Regions from separate parts of the Homo sapiens genome. Here regions 2 and 3 are each linked to region 1. The links are contacts of gene promoters, found by promoter capture Hi-C in blood cells and fetal thymus (Javierre and others, 2016). All regions are on one chromosome and are shown on one strand. The core of a region is centred on a gene start or on the middle of the fragment in contact, and the rest is flanking DNA. Distances in the headings are between cores, read along the strand shown. Region 1 holds the start of SPMIP3 (sperm microtubule inner protein 3). Region 2 overlaps SDCCAG8 (SHH signaling and ciliogenesis regulator SDCCAG8). Region 3 overlaps SDCCAG8 (SHH signaling and ciliogenesis regulator SDCCAG8).

Region 1 (2,700 bases), core at 1-2,500:
AGCCTGTGCGATGAGAGGCTGTTTAGAAGAGGGCTCGCAGCAATGAGTTACTTTGATAGTCCCCTGTTGCTTCTGTTTTCTCAGGCAGGCAGTTTTCCCAGTTCAGGAAGGTTGGTTCCCTTCTCCCCTGACTCTCACCAGTTCTGTAATGAATTCTGCTGCCTGAATACTCTTTCTTTTTTCCTTCTCTAGCCTAAATTAAGCCCATTCTTCAGGGCTTTGTTCAGGTCCTACATACGTTCCCTAGGAGGCCTCTCTTCTGAGTTTCAAATGGCCCATTTCCCTCCTGTGAATTCCCAGAGCCCCTGGGAGATTCTCCTACGCATTTTGGTTCTGAGTCCTTTCCTTTTTGGTTTATTGGTTTCTGAATTGATTTATTCATTTTATTATTTAAGAAAAATTAGTGACAACTCTCCACCAGGCTTTGGATAAGGTTCTAGAAATTCTTCAAACAACGAGACATCTGGGTTTTTTGTTGTTGTTGTTGTTGTTTGTTTTCTTAAACAGAGACAGGACCTTGCTACGTTGCCCGGGCTGGTCTCAAACTCCTGGGCTCAAGTGATTCTCCCACCTCGGCCTCCCAGAGTGTTGGGATTATAGGTGTGAGCCGCCACGCTTGGCCAAGACATCTGTTTTATACAGCACTTTGTCTCTTCAGGTAAAATGTGAGCTCCTAGATGTTGGGGACCACTTCGTTTGGTGGCCACGATCTTCACTCTCTTTGTCCTTCTCCTAACTCATTCTCTTGCAAAGTGTTCGCTGTCCAAGGAGTGCTTGATGCATACTTCAGAATGAGTGAATAAATCAATCGATCAGCTAACTCAGTAACCTGTTAATCTAGTTCACAGTTTTTAAAACCTAGGTCTTCTTGTATCACAGAGAACCAATTATCTTATTTAATATAGGTGTACCCGTTTCTAAGAAAAAAAAGACACGTTGAGTTAAAACTATGACAAGAATTCAAAGTTGAGAGAGATGAGTATTCACTTTCCAAAAGACATTTTTGCTTTACCAAAAGGCTTGCCATGAAGTTTCTTTATGTTGTGAGTTCCTGTCTCTAAAATATTTGAAATGCAGTCAACCATTTAGTAATGCAACCTCTAAATGAGGCGAGAGAGAGGTACAGGCAGTAACAACCAACCGCTATTACCTGCTTGGGCTGCCGTGGGCAGAGACCTCCTTGTTCTTAAAAGTACTCTGAGGACAGTGATGGGTACAGCTGCCTCCTGCTGCTGGATCAACTGCAGAGTGGCAGGGCCTGATTCCTTTACATCATTCAAAGGGTATTGTGACGCACACTGGCTTGCAAGGTTTTGCCAGGCAATGCCTTTCAGGTCCTGGGCTTAGAAAAAGAGTGCTCCTTTGGTCTCTAGGGAGAGACCAGCTGCACATGAAAGAAGGGGCAAAAATTACTGTGAAAAGGAAAATCATGTAGGCAAATAACCAGGCTATCTAATCACTAGAGCTTGCTTTCCTGTAAAGATTGTCCCAAGGACAACGTAAGGTGAAAATCTGGGTGGTGCCACACTGAGGAGTCCTGCCCTTTGCAAGCTGGAATTGAGGAAGGATGGTTTGGCACGAGGGGCAGATGAGGCCAGCCCCGCCTTGTCCAAGGTTAGGTCAGGCTCCAACCTGCTCCTTTGCAGGTATCAAAGGATAATTTTAATTATTTAAAAATATGCTGCAAACCAATCCATGGAGTATCACAACAGCACCACTATATAGAAGCAAGCCATAACCTGAGAAGAAGAGAGTGGCAAAAATATTTATTCTGACCAACCTCTGTCAAAACCAAACCAAACCAAAACGAAACACTGGCATTTTTTTTTCTTTTTTTTTTTTTGTGATGGAGTCTCTGTTGCCCAGGCTGGAGTACAGTGCCACAATCTCGGCTCACTGCAAGCTCTGCCTCCCGGATTCAAGCGATTCCCCTGCCTCAGCCTCCTGAGTAGCTGGGACTACAGGCGCGTGCCACCACGCCCGGCTAAGTTTCTGTATATTAGTAGAGACGGGGTTTCACCACGGCCAGGATGGTCTCGATCTCCTGACCTCATGATCCTCCCGCCTCGGCCTCCCAAAGTGCTGGGATTACAGGCGTGAGCCACCACACCCAGCCAACACTGGCATTATCTACAGTAGGTTGTCCTGGAAACAGGGACACTTCTCACTTATATACAGTTTGCAGGTTAGAATGTAAAATATTTCCATAAGATTCCAGAAGGCACTCAGGAGAGACCAGGGGCCAGGCTGGGTTCCTGCTGGGAGCTTAACCTACATGGAACAGGCATAAAATAATGTAATGACAGAGTCTTGGTGACAGCATTTTGTTGAAAGCAGATAAGCTAGGGAAAACTTAAATAAATATATGAGGACAGAAGCAACAAACTGGAACCACACTAAGAGAAAGGATAAATTGGTTTGATTTGTTGAGTGAGCACCACACGTTTTTTTAGCTATTAGACACACACCATCTAGAATCTCCACCACCACCATGGAAGGAGATTCTCTTTTGAAAATGAAGTATTTCTATTTGAAATGAAGGCTAAGAGAAGAAGCTACGGAACTTGCCTAACAGTCACACAACGAGGCCGTAATGAATCTATGATTTGAATCCAGCTATTTGACGTCAAAGGCGTTTTAAGAGTAATAACCAGTATTCTTCACTGAGGAAAAAAAATGAACAAAAAATCCCCATGTTCT
Region 2 (2,700 bases), core at 132-2,631, 1.0 Mb after region 1:
CTCTGAAAAATAAAATTGGAACCAACCTAAAAACAAAATTGTAAATATAAAATCATACGGTATTTACACTCCCATCCAAGCCACTAGTAAGTCATGTGCCACTAATAAGAAAATGCCATGATTATCAGTGATACACTCGCTGAGTAATGCCATTAGATTTTTAAGAGACTAAAGATGTGGCACATTTGTTATACTGCAAAATACTCTAAAACCATTGTTATTATTTAAGATACATGGGTCTTCAAACTCAAAGCTCAGCATCCTAGTAAGTCAGAGGAAACTTAAAAAATACAGTTGTATTTCTATACTCAAGGTAGGGATTGGCAACTTTTTCTGTAAAGGGTCAGACAGTAAATATTTTAGGCTTTGTGGGCTATATGGTCTCTACCACAACTCCTCAACTCTGCTGTTGTTGCAGGAAGTAGCAATAGGTGATACATATATGAGTAGGTATGGCTGAGTTCTAATAAAACTTTATTTGTAACATAGACAGCAGGCCAGACTTGACCTATGAGCTGTAGTTGGCTAACACTTTTTTATGAATACTGGGCACATTAGCATATTGAATATGCATATGTGTCTGTATATGTGAGTGGGGATATATACACATATATTAGTATGCAAAATCTCCATTTGCCCATCCCCCTGGTTATGGCAGTTTCTTGGGCACGTGATCAGTGCAGTCACACATGTGCTGTTCAGAAGGGTCCTTACACTTGCAGTTTAATACTCTGTGGTCAATGTCTTGAAATTATTAGCAATTGTATCTTAGAATTGTGTTTTTTTTTTTTTGTTTTGTTTGTTTTGTTTTTATCCAAGACAGGGTTTCGCTCTTGTTGCCCAGGCTGGAGTGCAGTGGCGTGATCTCGGCTCACCACAACGTCCGCCTCCTGGGTTCAAGCAATTCTCCTGCCTCACCCTCCTGAGTAGCTGGGATTACAGGCATGTGCCATCATGTCCGGCTAATTTTTTTTTTTTTTTTTTGTATTTTTAGTAGAGACGGGGTTTCTCCATATTGGTCAGGCTGGTCTCAAACTCCCGACCTCAGGTGATCCGCCACCTCGGCCTCCCAAAGCGCTGGGATTACAGGCGTGAGCCACCACGCCCGGCTAGAATTGTGTTTTGTAGGTGTACTCTGATGGAACAATGGAGACTGAACTCCTGTATGTGGTCTCATCTTTCCACTGCCTCACTGCAGCCCTACGCAGTTCTCAGAAATATACTCCTCTCCAGCTTCCTCTATCCCGCCCTGCCCTGCTGCTGGGGTGGGTCCCTCCACCTAGGGTGGGACCAGGGCACTGGGGGAGGTGCGTATGTCACTGGGGGAGGTGTGTGTTCTCCTGTGTCTTTTGCCCCTGGCAGAATCCTGAATGTGTGTTTAGAGAGGATTGAGTCAAGTGTGCCCATCCCTGCCATCTTAGAGCTGGACAGGGAGGTAAGAATTCCCGCCCCAGGCCGGGCGCGGTGGCTCATGCCTGTAATCCCAGCACTTTGGGAGGCCGAGGCCGGCGGATCAAGAGGTCAGGAGATCGAGACCATCCTGGCTAACACGGCGAAACCCCGTCTCTACTAAAAATACAAAAAAAAAAAAAAAAAAAAATTAGCCGGGCGTGGTCGTGGGCGCCTGTGGTCCCAGCTACTCGGGAGGCTGAGGCGGGAGAATGGCATGAACCCGGGAGGCGGAGCTTGCAGTGAGCCGAGATCGCGCCACTGCACTCCAGCCTGGGCGACAGAGGGAGACTCCGTCCTAAAAAAAAAAAAAAAAGAAAAAAAAAAAAAATGCATGTCCAGCCTGGGTTGGTGAGGGAGGAGGGGCAAGGAGAGAGAGACTGAAGAAGAAAGGAAAATGTTTTATATTTTAGTTCTTTTTAATATCACTTCTTTCCTGCTTTCTGAACAAAAGGGTCCTGTATTTTCACTTTGCACTGGGCCCTAATCAAAGGTTAGCGGCTATAAAGAATCGTCTTCTCAGATTAATTTACCAAAAGGGAAGTTGACAAAAAAACTCTATTTCTGCATCACTCATTTCAGGTCAGCTCATCCTTGTCATGTTAGGGCCTCCTGCAACATGTCCAAATCTTAAATACAAGGCTGTGAAATTAATGCTGAATTTGGGGTTTCGGATGCGAGGAAGCTCCTTTTGGGATATGATTATCAGGAATGCTGCGTGGTAGCCATTTCCTTCACATACTTTGCTGTAGGATTAATTTATACCTCTTTAGAATGACAATGAGGCATTTTATAAAAATAAAGCATAATCAAAACATTATGTACAAAATTTAACAGACAACAACAAAGAAAGATGAAATTTTACTAAGAGTTCTGTTTATTTCCTATTAAAAAGGGTAACACCAGAAAATTGGACATACAAAAACATACTTGTTCTCCTAATTTGAATAAACCAACTGTAAAATCAACATTTTTGAGACAAAGAAATGTGAATATAGGCTGGGTGTTATTTGATATTAAAGAAGTATTGTTAACATTGTTAGGTATGATAATGACATAGTATGTAAAAATATCCTTCATAGATCCACATGGGTATTTATGAGTAAAATAACATAAGGTCTGAGATCCATTTAAAATACTTCTGCAAAAGAAGAAAAAGAGGTAGAGGAAGAAGACAGAAGAAGATGAAGATGAGAAGGTGGAGCAGAAAAAACATGACAAAGAAGATGAAGGTGACGATGAGGACAGAAG
Region 3 (2,700 bases), core at 128-2,627, 1.0 Mb after region 1:
CTCCAGACCTGGACTGCGAAAATCACCTCCAGAGCTGGATTATGATAATCACCTCCAGAGGGGGATTATGATAATCACCTCCAGACCTGGACTGTGAGTCACCTCCAGACCTGGACTACGATAATGACCTCCAGCTGATCTCCAGGCATCTATTCTGCTTCTCCTTCCAATCCACTGACAAAATGATTTTTCTCAAATATAAATGGCATCGTGACACTGACAAATTCAAAGCCATTCAATGGCTTTCCATCCCTTTTTGGACAAAATTGAAAATCCTTCATATGGATTTTAAAGCCATTCATGATTCCATCCCAACATAATTCTCCAAACTCATTCCCACTACTCTGCTCCTCTCTCTCTATGCTCCACCCATCAGGGCCTTCTCCAAATTCCTAGAAAGTGCGATGCTTTCCAGGTCCAGAGTCTTGGGTGTGTTATATTCCTGGGCCTGAAACCCTCTTCCCCTCTTCACCTGTCCATTCATCAATGCTTTCAGGTCTCATTTTCAACATCTCTTACTCAGGAAAGTCTTTCGTGACTGCCTAGACAAGGTCAGATTCCTGTTACACATTCCCACGATATCCTAAACCGAACCTTATGGCTTTATCACAATGATGATCGAAAACTCACTTATGAAAACATTTGTGTAACATCTACTTCTCCTACGAGTTTGTAAGCTTCATGAGGAAACTGCATCGTTCCTGTGACTACAACATTCCCAGCCCCTCTGGTTAATATCTGTTGAGTGTGGAATGAATAAGAGAGAGGAAGGCAAAAGAGGACTGCTAGAAAGCACTGAAAGGACCGTGGACACCGAAGACCTGGAGTCTACAGCCATGTCATCTGCAAGGCTGTGTGATTTTTACCAGCAGAGATCACCAATCCAGGGCAGAGAAGGTAGGTAGTAGGGTTTTGACAGACACAATTTTTAAAAATGGATAAGAAGACAAGGACATTTACAGGAAATGCCTGAGTTTACTCTTATTAAGACTTAAAACTCATAGGGCAGAAGTTGTGATTTTTCTCTTTACATATCTTTAGGCCTCCACATTGCTTTGCACACAGCACATACTCAGTATATACTTACTGAATAAGTTAATTATCACACATTGAATCTGATAACAACATAGCATTTAGAGTACAAGCTGTGAGTCCACTTTTAAAAACAAACATGTAACACAGTTGTTTTGGTTACTTGATGGACCACAACTTGCTCAATTCGAGTCTAGTTAGCAATTTTAAAGCTAGGTCCCACTCAACTCTGTATTCTAGTTTGTGAACTCCTTTTCAAACACTGCTTGTTTCATGTTATCTGTTCCTTTTGCCTTAAATCTCTCCCTTCATCTGGTTACCGTCATTATTCATCATGTAATTTGTCAGAACTGATTTCATACAGAGTGCATAATCACTTTTTCTTGGTTACTCAGTTCCTTACAAGTGTTTCATCTTCTGCATATTTAATTTAGGGGTAGGAGATAATGCAGGGGAAGTCATCTCTCCTTGATTTAGCCAAGGTTGAAATAAAATCTGGGTATCTTCATAGCACGACTCTGGGAAACACGAGAGAGGGAATCCAACAGAATGGCAGGATTTAAAGTAAATTTTGTAATTTCATTGTATGGAATCTAACTGATTATTTTATTTGAAAAGATCAGCATAAACTATTGAGAAATATATGAAAAGATAAAACATTTTTATGAATTCTAAATTATACGAAATTTAACTACTTATATAATAACGATTTTAAAATTTAAAGTTCATTCAAGAACTCCAGCCTATGGAATCATCAATGGCATCATAAAAAACCTTTCTTCTGCAATGTGGATAACAGCAGAGTCCTTAAGTACCTTTGATCCCATGTACTCCCTTTCTTTCGTTATTTCCTTTTTCATCATGTCTTTCTCAATGGCCCTTTTCTCTTGCTGAGATGCAAGTTCTTTTTCAAGTCGCTCCGCCTGCCTCTCCAGCTCCTTCCTCAACTGGTCACACTGGATTAAAGCCTGCCAGGATAGAACAGATTGAAAGAGGAGGTTAGAATTTGGAAAAAATATAGGTAAAATGACATAATTAAGCTTTAAGTATATTTAAAATAGCAAAAACTCACTATAAAGCCCATTAGAATAATTTTTTATTGTTTATCAATACCACTTATTGACCTAAAAGAGTATCCAAATGTTACATTTATTGACATATTTCAATTTTCATGATTAAAGCCATATTAATTAATCAATGACAAAATTCAGGTAATGAACCTTGATGACGGCCACAGATGAGTCAGAATTTTAAAAAAGGGAACCAGAAACACCAAGTGTTCTAATATTTTCAATTATATATCATGTTTATACTACACGAAATACGTAAGTATCCAATTTAACTGATTTCTTATTTGCTCATGGATAAAAATTATTGGAATACTTCAAATGATAGATCAAAATACTAAAATGAAATGTTGAATATATCATTACACACAGGCATCTTTTGTTTAATACTATATAATAATCAAGTTTCCTTAAATATAACTAAGAGAAAATTTAGTTCACTCCCCTTAAACATACAACTGAAGTAAAAATTATGTAATAATCGTAAGTTAAATGGAAAGACTCAAGACAGTATTCACTACTTAGTTTTATAAGGATCTTCCACTTCTGGTAAAGTTCATGATTGTCCTTTACTGTAAATTTCCCACTCTGCATTTCCAGA

Evidence for each region. The method cuts DNA at HindIII sites, captures the fragments that hold promoters and counts their contacts. A CHiCAGO score of 5 or more calls a contact.
Region 2: a contact is called between a fragment that was not itself captured here and the fragment with the promoter of SPMIP3 in region 1, in 4 of 17 cell types (total B cells, neutrophils, naive CD8 T cells and 1 more). The highest score is 7.5, in total B cells.
Region 3: a contact is called between a fragment that was not itself captured here and the fragment with the promoter of SPMIP3 in region 1, in 2 of 17 cell types (fetal thymus and neutrophils). The highest score is 9.4, in fetal thymus.

What each region holds. Positions count from the first base shown.
Region 1 is chr1:244,351,185-244,353,884 of GRCh38, reverse strand. SPMIP3 (sperm microtubule inner protein 3) reads right to left here and starts at 1,250. Exons shown (of 5, transcript NM_001012970.3): 1 at 1,151-1,250. The HindIII fragment of the contact is 3,357 bases long and covers 1-2,700 here.
Region 2 is chr1:243,347,103-243,349,802 of GRCh38, reverse strand. All of the region lies in intron 12 of SDCCAG8 (SHH signaling and ciliogenesis regulator SDCCAG8), which reads right to left. Among named protein-coding and RNA genes, the nearest start is that of MIR4677, 2.3 kb to the right of the region's middle. The HindIII fragment of the contact is 6,251 bases long and covers 1-2,700 here.
Region 3 is chr1:243,329,840-243,332,539 of GRCh38, reverse strand. SDCCAG8 (SHH signaling and ciliogenesis regulator SDCCAG8) reads right to left here. Exons shown (of 18, transcript NM_006642.5): 10 at 1,848-2,000. Among named protein-coding and RNA genes, the nearest start is that of MIR4677, 15 kb to the left of the region's middle. The HindIII fragment of the contact is 1,395 bases long and covers 680-2,074 here.